5 separate regions of the Homo sapiens genome follow, and regions 2, 3, 4 and 5 are each linked to region 1. The links are contacts of gene promoters, found by promoter capture Hi-C in blood cells and fetal thymus (Javierre and others, 2016). All regions are on one chromosome and are shown on one strand. Each heading gives the region's core, a stretch centred on a gene start or on the middle of the fragment in contact. The rest is flanking DNA. Distances are from core to core; before and after follow the strand shown.

What was found. The method cuts DNA at HindIII sites, captures the fragments that hold promoters and counts their contacts. A CHiCAGO score of 5 or more calls a contact.
Region 2: a contact is called between a fragment that was not itself captured here and the fragment with the promoter of ZBP1 in region 1, in 3 of 17 cell types (naive CD4 T cells, monocytes and total CD8 T cells). The highest score is 5.7, in naive CD4 T cells.
Region 3: the fragment with the promoter of VAPB here is called in contact with the fragment with the promoter of ZBP1 in region 1 in 9 of 17 cell types (neutrophils, total CD4 T cells, M0 macrophages and 6 more); the score reaches 17.5 in neutrophils.
Region 4: a contact is called between the fragment with the promoter of RAB22A here and the fragment with the promoter of ZBP1 in region 1, in 2 of 17 cell types (neutrophils and activated CD4 T cells). The highest score is 7.0, in neutrophils.
Region 5: a fragment that was not itself captured here is called in contact with the fragment with the promoter of ZBP1 in region 1 in 2 of 17 cell types (endothelial precursors and M0 macrophages); the score reaches 10.6 in endothelial precursors.

The regions. Positions count from the first base shown.
Region 1 is chr20:57,618,228-57,621,886 of GRCh38, forward strand. It overlaps ZBP1 (Z-DNA binding protein 1), which reads right to left and starts at 2,199. Exons shown (of 8, transcript NM_030776.3): 1 at 2,035-2,199. The coding sequence starts at 2,068. RefSeq lists enhancers at 1-611, 789-898, 1,979-2,028, 2,159-2,448. The HindIII fragment of the contact is 9,795 bases long and covers 1-3,659 here.
Region 2 is chr20:58,231,594-58,235,045 of GRCh38, forward strand. It overlaps the pseudogene PPP4R1L. Among named protein-coding and RNA genes, the nearest start is that of ANKRD60, 4.7 kb to the left of the region's middle. The HindIII fragment of the contact is 1,659 bases long and covers 670-2,328 here.
Region 3 is chr20:58,387,494-58,391,087 of GRCh38, forward strand. It overlaps VAPB (VAMP associated protein B and C), which reads left to right and starts at 1,736. Exons shown (of 6, transcript NM_004738.5): 1 at 1,736-2,024. The coding sequence starts at 1,967. RefSeq lists silencers at 1,445-1,884, 2,145-2,264. The HindIII fragment of the contact is 12,509 bases long and covers 1-3,594 here.
Region 4 is chr20:58,307,650-58,311,528 of GRCh38, forward strand. It overlaps RAB22A (RAB22A, member RAS oncogene family), which reads left to right and starts at 2,066. Exons shown (of 7, transcript NM_020673.3): 1 at 2,066-2,363; 2 at 3,394-3,473. The coding sequence starts at 2,328. It also overlaps the pseudogene PPP4R1L. RefSeq lists silencers at 1,535-2,094, 2,135-2,464. The HindIII fragment of the contact is 7,008 bases long and covers 1-2,898 here.
Region 5 is chr20:58,190,349-58,193,793 of GRCh38, forward strand. No RefSeq gene overlaps it. Among named protein-coding and RNA genes, the nearest start is that of ANKRD60, 37 kb to the right of the region's middle. The HindIII fragment of the contact is 5,377 bases long and covers 1-3,445 here.

The sequences.
Region 1 (3,659 bases), core at 949-3,448:
TTCTGCTTCAAGGAACCTGAGGGCAGTGCATGGGAGAGCCCTTCTTGGAAAGACCTGAGTTCCCCTTCCAGGACAGTGACTCAGTCCTTTGTCATCTGGGCTTTCTTTCCTGTTCAGAGGATTCTCCAGGTTTGCCCAGGGTTCCTTGGTCACAGCACTTGTAGGGGAGGGAAGAATCAGTTTGTGCCTCACCCTGATGGTTACAACGCTGACCGGCTTGCCGTGTGCAGGTGAAGACCAATTAGAAGACCTGGGAATTCCCACTCCTGCGCCCACCAAACTCCCCCACCGGCAGCCAGCAGCACCTCCATGCACCTGACTTCACACCTGGCTTCACCTTGTCTCGCAGAGTTTTTTGTTTTTTGGTTTTGAGATGGAATTTCGTTCTTGTTGCCTGGTCTGCGGCTGCAGTGGTGTGATCTCGGCTCACTGCAACCTCCACCTCCTGGGTTCAAGCAATTCTCTTGCCTCAGTCTCTCAAGTAGCTGAGATTACAGGCACGCACCACTACACCCGGCTGATTTTTGTATTTTTAGTAGAGACAGGGTTTCCCTTTTTGGCCAGGCTGGTGTCAAACTCCTGACCTTGGGTGATCCCCGCAACTCAGCCTCCCAAAGTGCTGGGATTGCAGGCGTGAGCCACTGCGCCTGGCCGCAGTTTTGATTCTGGAAGGCTGACCTTAGGGAGCCACTGCCTCGGCTCCACACACCCCAGAGGAGATGGGGGTCAGAGGTGTGGATGCAGGACAAGCACTGGCCCTGGGCTGGCCTCGACTGCTGAGTCCCAGGCTACTGTGTCTGAAAATGGGAAATTGTAAAATGGAGCAGGTGTAGGCAACAATTTGGTCACAAAAGGAAAATCAACTGGGGAGGAAGACAAGAAAAGCCAGCGAGGGCTGAGTCCGGAACCTGCGTCAGCACCCGTGAGTCCCCGAAGAGGAAGCTCCACAGGACCTCCGCGGTCAGCCCGGCTCCTGGGCCACACCCTGACATTAGCCCTCCCGGGGCACACTCTGTGTTGGTTTTTTAAAATTCTGATGGCTGATTTCCTGGGTTTGAGCTCCTAGCCCTGCCAACTACTAGCTGTGTGACCTCCCCTCCGGCTTCAGGTTCCTCTTCTGTGAAATGGAGACAGTAATAACTACTTCAAAGATTGTGGTGAGGATTAAAAACAAAACAAACACATCCCCCAAACCGCAAAACCACACTTCACCTACAGTCCACAGCGCTTAGTGGAGACCCTAGAGAACAGCAATTACTCGATACACTATTGGCTTTCATTGCAACTCTTCCAGGAATAAAATGAATGAAATGTTAGTTGAGGAAAGGATGCAACAAGGGGGAACAAAGGCACACATGTATCTCATCAAAGCAAACCGCTTTGTTCTCGATATGACTGTGACATGGGTGTTCAGACGCTAACACCAGCGTTCGCCAGCTGTGTTACCCTGAGAGTGTCATTTCACCTCTCAGGGCCTCAGTTATCTATAAAATGGGAATGACATGGCACTTGTCCCTGCAGGCCATCAGGAAATGCTTGGAAAGCATGTTTCGAGGTGCCTGGGGCACAGTCAGCTGTCAAAGGGGGATGGCTATGCTGTCCCTTTCTATTTTTTTTTTTTTTTTCTGAGATGGAATCTCACTCTGTCACCCAGTCTGGAGTGCAATGGCGACATCTCAGCTCACTACAACTTCCACCTCCCGGGTTCAAGCGATTCTCCAGCCTCAGCATCCCGAGTAGCTGGGATCACAGGCATGCGCCACCATGCCCGGTTAATTTTTGTAATTTTAGTAGAGATGGGGTTTCGCCATGTTGGCCAGGCTAGTGTCAAACTCCTGAGCTTAAACAGTCCACCTACCTCGCCTCCCAAAGTGCTGGGATTACAGGCGTGAGCCACCACGCCCAGCTGGTCTACTATTCTTTAGGATACTGCTATTGTCATCATGATCTGGACCAAGCGAAACAGGAGGAAAGAGAAGTAGAAATCTCACCCCGGGAGCTACCGCTGGTCCTTGGAAGGAAGAAGTACTGTACCTTCTCTGCCCGGGTCAGCAGGAGCCTGGGCCATGCTGACAGCAGCTGCAAGGAGTCGGAGAGACTTGGCAGGTGTGCAGGCTTCTGCACTGTGGCCCTGAGAGGGTGGGCTAGGTCGAGGCTGGGGCTTCTGAAGTGGCCGAGCCTGGTGCTTCTTGCAGCTCTGAACCCACAAGGGGAGGGATGCCAGCTTCCACTGGGCAGGTGTCAGCTGCTTACAGCCCGGAAATAGATGCCTAGCCAGGCCGGCCAGATTCGGTTTCAGGAGAAAAAGAAAATGAAACTTCTCTGTTCGTCTTTTGAAAGAAAAAAAAAGTGGAAGCCAGGTGGATGAGCAAGACAGAGTTGGGGACCTGACTTGATGTTGACAGGGAGGAGCTGTAAACTTGGCAAGACCAGAGCGTCCTCCGAAGAGGCCTTTGAGACAGAGGACTTCCCTCACCTTCCCCGTTCCAGGCACAGCCCACCTGGACCTCTACATTTTTATTTTCTGAATCAGCATCAGAGAACTGAAGAAAATAAAAATAAAAAAAAGAGCATGCACCACGTGGAGGGGGATGCCAGGGCGTGGCATCACTCTGATGATGTGAGGGGCTGGGGCTGGTTATCTGGTTTCTGTGTTTTTGTTTGTTTTTGAGACAGGGTTTCTGTCATCCAGGCTGGAGTGCAGTGGCGTGATCACGGCTCACGGCAGCCTCGACCTTCCGGACTCCAGCGATCCTCCCACCTCTCAGCCTCCCTAGTAGCTGGGACCACAGGCCTAGACCACCATGCCCGGCTAATTTTTGTATTTTCTGTAGAGATGGGGTTTCATCGTGTTGCCCAGGCTGGTCTCAAACTCCTGGGCTCAAGCGATCTGCCTGCCTTGGCCTCCCACAGTGCTGGGATTCCAGCCGCAAGCCCCCACGCCCGGCCCCGCTGGTTCCTGTAGTACTTCCTCCTCGGGGACTCACAGGTGCTACAGAGGCACCGTCCCCAGCTCTCAGTGGCTTTTCTTGTCTTCTTCCAGTTTGTTTCCCTTGCCCACACTAGGGGCAGAACATTTAGGTGCGTGAAGGCCCTGAGATTGTTCTTGTGTGTATCCATGTGAGCCTCTTTAATGAACACCTATTATGCGTTTTCCAATCTCAAGTGCTCCTCCAACCCATCTACAGGGTAGGGGCCAGTTCTGTCTTCTTCTCAGGGGGGAAACTGAGGCTAGAAAGGCAAGATCACTTGTCCAAGGCCACACAGAGTCCATGACAGAGCTTGTCCTGTCCATTCCCCAATTGTGTTTCCTGATCTATAACACCCAGAAGTCACTGGTGAATCACCCTTAGTGCACAGATGGCGTGGAGTTCCCCGCCTCATCATAAAACTTGCTTATTAATTCCAGAGTCAGATGCCTGGGGTCAGCAGCCGAGTGGTTCGGAATGCAAGCCTGGGTCAGCATGCTTGGGTCCAAACCTGGCTCCGCCATTTACCGGCTGTGTGACCTCGGACAAATTATTTAACCCCTCTGTGCCTCAGTTTCCCCATGTGTAAAAGGACTTAATCAAAGGACCTAGCGCATGGGGTCGAGGTGAGGACCTAAGGGGCTGATACAGCCCAGCTGTCGGGCTAGAGCCCCAGAGCCATCCGTAGTC
Region 2 (3,452 bases), core at 249-2,748, 610 kb after region 1:
ATCAGGTTCAGTCCCTTCGGGGTACAGATGGAAAAGGCGTCAATCACTGAGTGCACAGTATGAAAGGTTCCAAAATCTCCCCCAGCTGGTATAATACAATCAGTTCCCCTTCAAGTTATGGTAAGCCATATGTGCCAAGCATGAAATAATCAGATTGCAACTCATCACGGAAGTAGTTAATTCTGTTTTTCTAGTACAGCAGTGTCTATGATATTCCGCCGCTTTGGTTCTAGGGCTGCAAAAAAGGAAACATCTTGGTCCCGGTCTGACTGCAATGCTAAGATGGTCTCTTCAATGACTTCAAGATGAGGGTTACCAGCATTTCTAAAATACGCTAAAGAGAGAAACCATGAGTCTGAATCAGGTAAGCCATGAACAGTGTTCAAAACACACTCGGTTTTGTTTTTTGTTAGCCACATGTCAGGACAATAAATCAAAGAGTATTTCTAAAATGTTAAAGATGGACTCCCAACAGTTATGCATATTTTTAAAATTATAGTAACTATCTTTTTTCCCTGCAATACAAAAGAAATGGCAATGTGCAGAGCAGGAGCAGGTTGTAGGTAGGGTGGGGCAGGGGGTGAGGTGGCAAGAAATGTACATGTAGGGCAGAGTTCAAGATATTTTCCTATATGTGTGGTGTAGAAATAAACTATCCAAGAAACACAAAGCTTTTATTGAGTCCTGTCCAGGTGTAAATAATCCACTAGTTGGGTTACAAATCTTTTCTAACTGACCACAAAATAATACCATTAAAACATAATAGCAGTTAAGGCTTACGTTTGCTACCTTTCATAATCTTTCATGTCATAACTCAAAATTTATCAATTTCCCTCATTTCTGGAAAGCTATGTAATAATTTACATTTTAGCATATGTTTATTAAGTATGAAGACCAAATTACATTCATTTCCTTGGTCGTTTTATAAATAACATAAAATGATGCATCAAAGTTAACATAATCATTTACATAATAAACCTTACGCGTGCTGTCACACAACCTGCCTCAGTTTCCTAGAGGAAATCTAGTTGTGGCCTTTAACAACTGGTGGAGTCTACCCGAAATGTGTAAGTTCTGAAAAGTGCTCCACCTACCCTTTTCCAACAGCATCTGCCTTAGGGCCTTGGCTAGCAGAACCCTCACGTTGGGCACAGGATCTGATGCGAGGCTCAGGAGGCTGGGAAGCAGGTGCTCCATGAACTGGTCCACGGGGACACACTCCTTGCTCACCACTGCCTGCTCCAAGAAAGTCACAGCCAAAGAAATGATGTTTTCCGCAGTCTTCTAGAAACATACACTTCTTTAATCCCAAAGAAGTCATTTCAGAATCTGTAGGTTTGAGGCGTGTGTATGAATTTTTAAATCTCAAGCACTGATTTGGTTAGAAACACAGTTAATATTTTATTATAATTCACTACCAAGCAGTGGGTTCCAAGTAGGTTAAGATCTGGTGAGCTTAGGAGTCAGAAGTCTAGATTCAAAACCTAACTTGGTCTTAGTAGCTATGTGACTTCTGGTTAAGCGGCTTAGCCTTTCTGAGCCTCAGTTTCCTCATCTGTATGATGACAGGTCTGTTATGCAAAACATCTAGGACAATACCACCACACTGCATACAGCTGACCGGTAAGGAAGGGTCAAGAACCTCATTTCTGTCATTCACAGCGGCCGTGGCTGTCAAGTGACAGTCAAATCCCAAACCATAACCCAATGCCCAGACCTCTATAAACAATCCGTAAATGCCAGTCCTGTAGTCATACCCAGCAAGTGCATATAACTTCTCCAGTTACACGACTTTACATGTATTCTCTCACTTAATTCTCAGGACTAGCCCTGGAATTCAAAATCAGCCTAGTTTTACAGGTTAAAAAAAAACTCATTTCCAATGTGGTGGTGACACCCAAAGGTCTCATAACCACCAGTGGCAGCGGGGGGGTCTGCGAGCCCAAGTGTAGGTTCTAACTCCTGTGGCAGCAGGGTGGGGACTGTGAGCCGAAGTGTGGGTTCTAACTCCTGTGGCTCTTCTATGCCCGGGTAATTGGTGTCGTGGTGGATGGGTGCTGTGGCGGTGGCTGCTGGTGTTCCCTAGGTGCCAGGCGCCATGCTGGGTAGCTCAGCTTTATCAGCCCACGGAAGCCCATGACAACACTAGAAGGCAGGCACATATTCCTAGGCTCCTTTAAGCAGTGTACATGGCACCCAATGTGTAGCCTTTTACCCCTCACCCCCTCCCACCCTTCCCCCGCAGTCCCAAGAGTCCTTTTGTTTATTTCAGACTTTCTAAATCTCAGATAAAGAATTTAAAAATAAAAGCAAAAACTATTTCCTTTAAGCTTTCTCCACAAATTGATTTGGAACATTGACTCTTCCTTCACAAAAGTCTGTGCCGTCTGTGAGTTTGTGAGTCTGTGAGTTTGTTGTTCACTCTGCCATCCACTGCCCTTCTCAGAGTGGGCTGCCAAAGCACTCCTGTAATGTCCCACTGGTCCAAGAGGGGGCGCTGGTGAGTCCTCTGGTGCCCGTGGTCATCAGGGAGAGAAAGGGGGCTTTGCGGTCTGGGGTCAGGTACGGTCCCAACCACGGCTTCACTGTACTATCAACAAAGCTGGGTGGTGGGTTCACAGAGGTTCATTACAGCAATCCCTCTACCTTTGTATATGCTTGAAAACGTGTGTAATGAAAGTTAAAATGTTTAAAACAATACTTTAGCAGAAAAAAAAAAATCATCGGCTTACACTTCCTGTGTGATCTTGAACAAGTGACCTAACCTCTCTGGGCTTCAAATGTTTCACCTAAAAGAGCTGGTCTAAAGGTAAATGGGTATGCCATGCTCAATACACATTACCTCTTGGTTTTTTTTTTTCTTCCCTGAGATGGAGTCTCACTCTGTTGCCCAGGCTGAAGTGCAGTGATGCAATCTCAGCTCACTGCAACCTCCGCCTCCCGAGTTCAAGCGATTCTCCTGCCTCAGCCTCCCAAGTAGCTGGGATTAAAGGTGCCCGCCATGACACATTACTTTTTATTAGAGAATTAAATGTGTGATGTGATACCTGGCACACAAGAGGTATTCAAGAAATGGCAGCCATTATCACTGCCATTGCTCCTAGGCAAACATAAATCACACCCTCATTTCCAAGAGGCTGAGTAGAGAGGGCGATCTGAGGAGCTGGACAGGATGATACGAACTCTACACATTTACTCTAAAGAGGTTAAAGTCTCTGCCCTAACCCACTGCCCAATTCTTCATCCTGCCTTCCTTCCAAAGCCACTGGCTAAGGTGAGGTGTAGTGGTGGACACAGACCTGTATAGGAAAGGAGTGGACTGTGGGCCTGGCCCTTATCTTACTGGATGGAAATGTGGGAGAGCAGAGGCTTGTTCACTTTGTCTTTAGCATCTAGAATCTGTCTGGACCATCGTAGGTACTCAATCAATAGCTATGTGGCAAATGAGTATG
Region 3 (3,594 bases), core at 486-2,985, 770 kb after region 1:
AGATACAGGTTGCAGTGAGCCACGATCATGCCACTGCACTCCAGCATGGGCAACAGAGCAAGACCTCATCTCCAAATAAATAAATAAATAAAATAAAAACAACAAAAGGCAAAAATGAATCCATTTGCAGATGAGCAGAAACTGAGAGGATTTGCACCAACGAAGCTACAAAAAAATAAAATTTAAAGGATTTACCTCAGGCAAAAGGAGAGTGATCCTGTTGGTGAAAGCTGAGATGCAAGAAGAAAAGGTGGATAAAAATGGTAATTGTGTGGCTGAATCTAAACTAATGTTGACTGAATAAAACAATTTAGTAATGTCTCTTGGGGTTACAGTGGCAAAGGTTAAACTTAACATACACTACATTAAGGTGTATAATTTAGAGGATGGGTGATTAAAGTACTCCAAAGTCTTTATATTTTAAGGAAACAGGGTAAAGACATTTTTACAAATATTTAAAGATATTGGACTTTCACAAGGTAAGTATGCATGCCCAAAAGTTTGAAGTAACCACTAAAACTTAGAAATAGAGTATACAGGTGAAGAAAATCAGAATGAGAATAAAAATAAACCCTAAAGAAGAAAGGAAAGGGGAAAAAAACCAGGCAGGACAAATAGAAATAACAAAATACAATGGTAGAAATAATTCCAGATATATCAGTAAATATAATAAATGTAAATGGACTAAATGCTCCAGTTAAAATACAAAGACTATTCTTTTAAAAAACCTTTTTATCATGAAAAATTTCAAGTATACAGCAAAGTGGGAGAAACAGTACAAGAAAACCATATACCTGCGATGTAGAGTCAGCCATTGCTAGCAATTTGCCACATTTGTCTCACCTATATGGGTATGTATAGGAGACTATTAAGAACACCTATTTAACTTCCATAGTAAACATAATATAATGAAATACAATTTAAACGGTAATCATGATGTAGAGTATCCACTTTTGAGGTCAAGCAGATCTGGATTCTCCAGCAATTTTTAATTATTTAACTTACGTGTGTGGTTATTTATTCAAAAGATGTCTCTTCACTAGGCTATAGTAAAAGGATTGGAATCAGGTTCGCTTTTCTGATCATTGTATTTCTAAATATTTGTTGCATAAACAAATAGAATTTACTAGTAAAGAATTCAGCACAGTGCCAGTTGCATAGTAAACATTTAACGTAGAGTAGCTTGTATTTATTGTAGTTGCTGTTGTTATTGGAAGCATTCAGTAGAGTGATACAAAATAAATAAGCAATAATTGGTAGTTTATTATATTTATAATTATTATTTACAAGACGTCACAGTGCCTAGCCCATATCACTCACCCATAAACATTATACTTATACTAAGTACTTTCACTATTATTCAAAGTCTCTAACAGTGCCTGGCACTACATAAGCAAGAGAAAAGTGGAAGTTTATTCTAATTGTTATTATTGAATAAAGCACTTAACACGAAGCTGGCCCCCAGCGGGCCCTTAATAGTTTCCGCGGTGGCTGTCGTAGCTGGACTACAGACCCCGCCTCCTGAGCGGCCCGAAGCCCCGCCCCTTACTGCCCCGCAGTCCCGCCCCCGTGGCTTGTGCCGCGCCTGCGCACTGTCCCGGAAGGGGCTCTACGCGCGCAGCTTTAGTCCCCGCCCCTGGAGCCGGCGGCGCAGGGCGCAGCTTCCCGCCGCCAGAGCGGGCCAGCCTGCTGCGTGCGTGCGTGTGTACGACTCTGCGTGCGTGCGTGCGTGCGTGCGTGCCGTCAGCTCGCCGGGCACCGCGGCCTCGCCCTCGCCCTCCGCCCCTGCGCCTGCACCGCGTAGACCGACCCCCCCCCAGCGCGCCCACCCGGTAGAGGACCCCCGCCCGTGCCCCGACCGGTCCCCGCCTTTTTGTAAAACTTAAAGCGGGCGCAGCATTAACGCTTCCCGCCCCGGTGACCTCTCAGGGGTCTCCCCGCCAAAGGTGCTCCGCCGCTAAGGAACATGGCGAAGGTGGAGCAGGTCCTGAGCCTCGAGCCGCAGCACGAGCTCAAATTCCGAGGTAAGCCCCAGAGGCCGCCACCTTCCTGCCCGCGGCCTCCGCCCCAGTGCTGGAAGGACGGAGCCCGGCGCGGCGGGTGACGTCGGCCCTCGTCCCCACCCCGACGGCGCTGTCGCGGGGGGCGGCGAGGCCGGGCCGGGCCTTGGCGCTCGCCGCGCTCCCCAGAACTGCCCGGAGTGGCCGGGACCCGAGAGGGCTGGTGCGGGAGCCGGGGCCTGCGCCTCCTCCCCGACCCCCAGCCTCCTGGGACTTGCCTTCGAGGCACTTGTCACTTTGTAACTTACCAGTTTGTGATCCTCTCTAGTGTGAGCCTCCGCCGCTGCCTTTGCCTAGAAGTTTCTTCCCCTGCTCCGTGACAGTGTTGACCTCAGGGCTTAGTTGAGGTGTCAGCTGCTCAGAGAGGCCTGCTGTGACCACCCAGCCACCGTGCACACCTGCTGTCATTCCCTATTCCGTCACTGTTTCGTGGTCAGCACGGCACTTTTCATACCCAAAATCACTGTTTCAATACTAGAAGGGAAACTGCATGAGGACAGGCTCTTGTCAGTTCGCTGCTGTGTACCCAGCACACATTATACGCCTAGTAAATAAATACCTGTTGAACCAACAGATGAACATGTTGAACCAACAAATGAACCTCCTCAGGACTTCTGATGGGATTGGGCCCATTTTCCTTTCACTGCGTCCCTCATGCTGTCTCCTGGTTGCGGTGCAAGGAGGCTGCCACGGTGCTGGGATCCTTTTTCTCCGCAGAGCTGTCTGGAGCAACACCTGCGGCGATGGGAAGCCATGACCCTGGTTTCTCCCAGATACTATTACCTCTGTAATTTGTGCCTTTATGTTTTCTATGTTGTTACTTTTGTTTTTTTTTTTTTTTTCCTACCTTCACCAGGGCCACGAGGTAAAAGTTCTTGTCTGACATGCTCATTCTTTCTTTTTGCGTGTATCCAGTGATGTGGGAGGCTCTGGGGAGGTGATGGATGCACAAGACAGATAAGGCCTCTGCTCTCACAGAGCTTACCTTCCGACGAGGACAGACAAACCAACACACAAGATCATTGCAGATAGTGCTAAGTGCTGTGTAGGAAATGGAACAGTCTGACTCCATGGAAGCGTACTTTAGATTGGAAGGCCGGGTCTCCACTATATCGCTAGCACCGGACTCACAGTAGATGCTCAGTTGGTATTTATGAATGAATGAATGGCCAGAGGCTCTCCAGTTTATATGTCCTATTGGGAAGTAGTGTAGGGTAACTTACCCAAAGTTACCCAGTTGGCAAATGGTACATTTGAACCCAGACTTCAGAGTTCACGCTCTTAACCGTTTTGCTGTCTGATCGCTGGGAAATACTCCAGAACGGTGGCTGTCACTTTGCCTTCCAAGTTAACAATGTGAAATAACTCTGAATTTACAGAGAACCAAAGGCTTTCCAATTAAAATGAAAAAACCGAAAAACCCCACCAAACCTACCGTGGATTGTAATTCCAGGATAGTACTTGAGCTTTCATGATGTTCTCATGGCCTTCTGGGGATGCCAGATTGGGAAAGAAGTCCAGGTAGCTAAAGTGA
Region 4 (3,879 bases), core at 816-3,315, 690 kb after region 1:
CCAGGCTGGAGTGCAGTGGCGTTCACTGCAACCTCTGCCTCCCAGGTTCAAGCAATTCTCCTGCCTCAGCCTCCCGGGCAGCTAAGATTAGAGACGCGCGCCACCAAGCCCGGCTAATTTTTGTATTTTTAGTAGAGACAGGGTTTCACCATGTTGGCCAGGCTGGACTCAAGTGATCTGCCCGTCTCTGCCTCCCAAAGTGCGGGGATTACAGGCCTGAGCCACCGCACCCAGCCGAAACTGCGCCTTCTGAGTTAATGTGTGTAAAGAGTTTAAGACTGGGCCGGGCGTGGTGGCTCACGCCAGTAATCCCAACACTTTGGGAGGCCGAGGTGGGCGGATCACGAGGTCAGGAGATCGAGACCATCCTGGCTAACAGAGTGAAACCCCTTCTCTACTAAAAATACAAAAAATTAGCCGGGAGTGGTGGCGGGCGCCTATAGTCCCAGCTACTTGGGAGGCTGAGGCAGGAAAATGGCGTGAACCCAGGAGGTGGAGCTTGCAGTGAGCCGAGATCGTGCCACTGTACTCCAGCCTGGGCTACAGAGCAAGACTACGTCTCAAAAAAAAAAAAAAAAAAAAAAGAGTTTAACGCTGTCTGGTCCATGGTAAGTTTTCAGTAAACACCAACTCTTACTATTAGGAAACCTGAAGATGTGGAATGAAAGATGAGAGGAAGTACTGTATATGACTGGCGTACAGTACGCCCCCAATTAATGTTAGCTATTTGGATGATTTATATAGGGCTTCTTCACCAGCAAGCACTCCGGTGCTCGGTAATTTTCTGTTTACAAGTAGGCTCTCCCCACACCCTGTGAGCTCCCTGCGTGTAGAGCTGTTTTCAACACATCCTTGCAGGTTCGGAGCCCAACACGTGGCCCCCAGAGCAAATAGCTGCTCAGTAAGTTTCTTGACAGGAGAGAAAACGCTTCCTTCCTTCACCAGAAATGCGAACTTGGATTTCTAAGATGACACCTCCCCCAGCTACCAGCCCTTAACATGATTCCAAAAAAGAGGGCAAGAAGGGACAAGGGTCCCACCCAAGAAATGCGGGGGCCAATGGGCTCCATGGGATAAGAGATGGAGCCGGGCTTGTGGCCAGGACACTTGAGAAGTCCGTGCAACTCCGTGACCGGCCACACCGAGAGGGGGACCTCCCAAACCCCCCAGCAGTCCTAAAAAGTCCCTAGGAAAAGGGCAAGGCCCTGAGAGGGAAGTCACCCACCTCCCAGGTGGCGGACCCCCCGCCCGCCCAGGGTCGACTAGGACTTGGGACTACCCCCTCCGCCCATCCCACGGCAGCTGCAGGCGCAGGAAGAAAAGAAGTGACAGGGAGTCCAAAGTTTCCCCAACAACAAAAATCCTTCCCCCGAGGGAAGGGAAGGGCTCCCACCCTCAGCCCGCCCCGCCCAGGGAGGAGGGACCGCCACCAGTGGATCTAGGCAGTTGGGGGTCCCGCTGTTCTGGTCCCGACAAGGAGTGCCTGGCTTGAGGTTCCCCCGCCCCGCGCTTCGTGCACTCTGAATTCTTTGAGAGGGTCCCAGGGAGGGACAGGGGTGCCCCAACTCTTACTTACAGTCGTCTAAGTCATCCTGCAAGTCCACAAAGTACAGGGGGATCTCTGAAAACCAAGAAACACACAAGAAGTTACCAGGGGGCTGCGGCGAGAGGGGACGGGGTCGGGCAGGGGCCCCTCGGCCTCGCGGGGTGGTCACGGGGCGAGAGAGAGAGGGGCACCCCTGGCATCCCCCGAGCCCAGCCCCACTCACCCGCCATCTTGGGATGGGCATGGAGGCGGGACCGGCAGGGGCGGGGCCCTGCAGACAGGGGCGGGGCCCTGCAGACAGGGGCGGGGCCCTGCAGACAGGGGCGGGGCCCTGCAGACAGGGGCGGGGCCCTGCAGACAGGGGCGGGGCCCTGCAGACAGGGGCGGGGCCCTGCAGACAGGGGCGGGGCCCTGCAGACAGGGGCGGGGCCGTCGGCTTCGGGCCCCGCCCCCGATCCGCGCCGGCCGGCCGGCCCCGCCCTCTCAGCGAAGGTGGCTGCCGAGGTGGGCGGGGAGGTCAGGTGACGCGGCCGGCGTCCCAAGATGGCGGCGGCGGCGGCTCCCGGAAGGCCGCGGCGGCGTCCCGGCTGCTAAGGCGGGCCCCACGCGGCTGGCAGCGGACAGGCCGGACCTACGGCCGGAGGACGGGCGGCAGCCGCCTCTGCGCGGACCGGGGCTGGGCCGTGCGGCGGCAGCGGCGCCAGGGGATGCTCTTGCTGGGCCTGGCCTCTCCCTTCTCAACTTAGGGCGGCGGCGGGCCCGCGCCCCTGGCTCCCGGGCCATGGCGCTGAGGGAGCTCAAAGTGTGTCTGCTCGGGGTGAGTGGCGGCGGGTCCGGCCGGGAGGGCCACGGGAGGCTGGGCTGGCGGGGACCCCGGATCCCCCCTGTCCCCTCATCCCTTCCCCCCTCCCACGTCCAAGACGCTGTCTGCCAGCCCCGTGGACCCTCCCTCCAGCTCGGGAGCCGTCCCGCCCACCTCTTGCACTCTCGAAAAGGTCCTGGAGGCCGAAGGGACCCTTCCCCTTCCCCTCCCTGGAGCCCGTGGACTCTTCCCGCCCCACAAAGAGCAAACAGCCCCCCCTTGCCTCTCTATTGCATCTGGGTTAAGAGAGGTTCTTAAATAGTTTTCTCCCAACTTACCAAGGTATTAGTTGGGAGTTGGCCAAGTCTTCCAAAGTAAAACCAATAACAGGTCTTTAGGTTTTACAAGCAGCATTAGCCTACTTTGTCTCTTGGGTGTTTTTGAACTTGTGGGATACCCCTGCCACTTGTCCAAAGAGTTACTTTGCCAAGTAACTCTTCCTGTGGAGAAAAGGGGTGTTCAAATCAGGAAGCCCCAAAGACTAGTTTGAAGCTTCAGCTTCCTGTCTTGTCAGGAAAGACAAGGTGTTGGCCATTTCAAAGCCTTCTTTCTGAAATTGATGCTGTCATTCCAGAGTTTCTGCCTTAAAGATCGGCAGGAACTCCAATAACTAATCTTTATTCCCCCAAATAGGGTGGGGCTAGGATTCATCAGGGATTACTCAGAGGTAACTCAGGAGTTCAAAGTTTACTAACATATGTTAAAAAGCAAGTGGACTTGTTACTTTTTACACGAAGCAGAAACTTTGGGTCTCTCAAAAGGTCCTAATCTGTCTTAACGGCAAAAACCTCTCCCTTTTAGTACAGTTGGAATTTCCTAATTACTCTACTGAATTTTTATGACAACCGCTTTTGTGTTCCTCCGTTTATAAAATTTACACGTCTAGGGTGATTTTTCTAAAATCCTGAACTTATGCCACAAAGTAGTTTTTGGTGTCTGCCAAAAGGTAAACTTTTTCTCAGTCCCTCATCTCGTTCTCTTTCAGGATACAGGTGTAGGTAAATCGAGTATTGTGTGGCGGTTTGTGGAAGACAGTTTTGATCCAAACATCAACCCAACAATAGGGTAAGAGACTTTTATTTGATACACATCTAAAGGTGCATTGAAAATCCTTCCAAATACATAGTGTGTTACAGGTGTAGGCCCTGCGCTTTGTAGTCATTGAATTCTGAGTCGCTGGTTCGCATCATCTCTGGAAGGACTTGAAAGAGTCCAGTGAGGATCTGTGTATTTTAGGAAAATTATCTTCGGACTTGTTGGGGGTGAGAACTTCAAAATGCAAATATGAATTGGAGTTCTACTAATTATTAGAACAGACACAGAAGCTTCGGTCTATAAATATCAACAGCAATTACACCTTGAAATAAGGCAGATGAAAATAGATCCTGGTGCTATTCTTTCAGGCATATCAAGTAAAAGACATTTAAATGGTTTTTGTCCTTCCTGAAAGTAGTAGGTTGAGATCTGAACC
Region 5 (3,445 bases), core at 923-3,422, 570 kb after region 1:
CAGATGACAGGGAAGTCGAGGTAGCCCTGGGGCGTTGTGGAGCCCTGGGAGTTAGCCAAGACCCCTCCACTGGAACCACAGGTGTCCACGGGCAGCAAGTCCCCGTCCCCCTAGACTCCTAGCAAAGTTCCCACCTTAGGTGCTAAAACTCACACCTCTTCACCAACACCTACTTGAAACTCCTCACCTTCCAGAGATAATAACTTGGCTTTCAGGACAATTTCATTTGTGTTAATGGAAAAAAAAAATCCTTGGACTAAGGCTTTTAATGACCAGTCATACCTTTCTCATTCCCCAGCCCACTGAGAAAAGGATCTTGTCCATTTACTCTCCCGAAAACGATATGTGGGGTAATGTGTTCCAGGAACCTCTCAGGTCTTAATGGCAGAGAAAGCCCATGTGGGGGCCACACTTTGATTTAATGACATATACTCATTTAGTGCATGGACAGCTAAAAGCTAAAATGCAGTGACTACAAAATTACTGTCAAATTCTACCTTTTTGTTTATTTTGCTTTGTTTCAAGTTCCATATACTACCAAATGTTCTCAAAGTTAGATAAAAGCTACACATTAAATTTGGTTTCCAAACTAGGTCAATCTAGGAAAAGAAAAAGATGTTGTTGCCTTTTTAATTCTAAAATAATGTAATGAGAAGAAATACACATGCTTTCTGCTCAATACTTTCCTTCAGAAAACCACCTTTCCAACTCCAGTCAGCCCCACTCCTGCAATCATGTGTCAGTCATAGGACTCCACCCCCAACACATGCACGTGCCAAGAACCAGTCTGGTCAGTTAGAATCCTCCATCCTGGCCGGGCGCGGTGGCTCACGCCTGTAATCCCAGCACTTTGGGAGGCCGAGGCGGGCGGATCGCGAGGTCAGGAGATCGAGACCATCCTGGCTAACACGGTGAAACCCCGTCTGTACTAAAAATATAAAAAATTCGCCGGGCGAGGTGGCGGGCGACTGTAGTCCCAGCTACACGGGAGGCTGAGGCAGGAGAATGGCGTGAACCCGGGAGGCGGAGCTTGCAGTGAGCCGAGATCGCACCACTGCACTCCAGCCTGGGAGACAGAGCGAGACTCCGTCTCAAAAAAAAAAAAAAAAAAAAAAAAAACCCTCCATCCTACAGAGCCACAGGGATTGGTTCTAAGATGTGCATGTGACCCAAACTGGCTAATCAGGGACTTCGCTGAGATTTGATGCCAGGAGAGACTTTCTCCTTCTCTCTGGGGTCTTAAGCTATGAAGACCACATAAGCTAGAGCTCCTGCCTCCATTGTTCCCTGACACATGGAAGGACCTGTCTGCAGGAAAAGAGGAAGACACAGATAAATGCAGAGACAGTGGAGATAAGAGAGAAAGAGAGAGAACAACCTGATTCTATCATCTGACTCCCTGGAGCCCCTAAACCCAGGGGACCATGAACTTTTCAGTGTCTTGAGCCAGCAATGCCCTCTTTGCACTTAAGCCAGTTTGAGCTGATTTTCTGTCAGTTACACCCAGAGATGTCCTGAGTGATACAGAGAATTTCTGTCAGTCATTCACTCACTCGGACAAGAAAGACACAGTCCCTGATCCACAGCCAGCAGAACCGAGCAGAGGTCACAGTCACTAGACAAATAATTGCACAGAGTGTCAGTCAGAGACAGGAGTGACAGGTGCCACAAAGGAGAAGCTGGGGTCTTCAGGGGAGTGTGCAAAGAGGATCCCAATCCCAACTGCAGAACTCAGGGGACCTTCGCCCAGAAAGTGACCATGAGATCCTACAACAGCTCCTTCATTCCTCAGTTTTGCTTTGTAGGATTTTCTTTTTTGAGTTCAAAAGTCTTCACTGATACCACTCTGTGGGTGAAAGAGGATATGCACACGCGCACGCAGACACATGCACACATAAACACGCACACATGCCCAGAAGCACATCCCGGCACACACAGACATGCATGCACCCAGACTCACATGCATGCATGCATTAACACACGGAGATATGCACAGAGACACATGCAGAAACACACCCTGGCACCCAACCACGATTCAGCCATATCTGGATGCATTGGACAAATCGGATTCAAATTCTAGCTCCCCTGAGCTCCCGTGAGCCTCAGGGTCTCTTCCTGTAAAGTGTGGAGATGGCGGTCCCCCTCACAGGTGTGTGAGCACTCAGTGAAGATGGATGTGAGTGAAGGTTTTAGCTCCAAGCTGGTCATGGCGCTAGAAGTCACCCTCATCATTAATGAGGAAAAAGTCATGTCTGTATCCAAGAGAGCAGGTCACATGGGAAATGGCACCCTTCCTAAGCAATCTGTAAGAGTCAGCAGTCGGCCCTGCTGGAGACCCTGACAGCATCACGGGGAAGTTGGGGTCTTGTTCACCCCTCACCTGCAACCCAGGGATGGGGCCGCTGCAGCAGTGCCCAGGGACACCAGCAGAGGGCAGTGGTGGCCAACAGACCCATTTATGAGCACTTGTGTGACCCCCGCTAGAAATGCCTGGGGTGGAGAGGACATGGGGGCTTTTCTGGGATCCCGGGAAAGTAAATGACCAGGACAAGACTGGGTGACATCTAGGCTATCAATGTGGCCCTATTTGTACCCAAAGGTTGGTGCAAAAAGTGCAAAGTGCAGGTCCCATCAGTGACATTCATAATTCTTCCTTGCAGAGGGGGAATAAAACTGGACCTAGAAAGGAATGAGGTTGGGAGTGGGGGTTCAAAGAAACCCCATGAGTGTTCCCCATGCAGGAACAGCATTCCATGCCCGAGGGGGCAGAAGGCGCTCAACAGCCGAAGGAGAGCCACACATGCCGCCAGCCACATGAAAAGACCTTGGCCCCGCTCCTTCTCACCCCTGTCCAGCCCTGACCCTGCCAGACCAGGAGCACAGGCGGAGAAGGTAGCAGAGCAAGGAGGGTGGAAGACAGGCCATCATCCCAATGGCAGGACCCTGGCATCCAGTTGGCCTGGTCTGGGGACCCTCTCCCAGAAGCTGTGAGCTGGACGTGAGCTTTACGTTTTGAGTTCCAGTCACATAGATGTCTTCACAACTGAGTGTGACTGGAGACCTCGGAGTCTGCCCAAGATGTCCCCAGAGGAAGGGGGTATGGCAAGGAAAAGCAAGGCATGTCCTAGCCCAGTCACTGTCTGCGGACACACCCTGCTCCTGTGAGACGTGGGACAGGGTTCCCAGCCAGGCTCTGAATTTCAGAGACTGGGCCTCCCACCACCAGGCCACTAGCCTCTGCTGGGTTACAGTCAGACACAAAGCCAGGAATTAGATTCCTTTGCTGGCCTGGGGGCCCTCGAGCACCCTACCTGAGTCTGTGAGCACCCTGTCCTCTAAGCAGAGCAGAAGCAGAGATGCGTCCCCACCTCGGGGACAAGTCCAGAGGGGAAAGAACTTAGTCCCAGTGCAGTGTGCAGAGCCAGCCCCTCTCCACGCTCCAGGC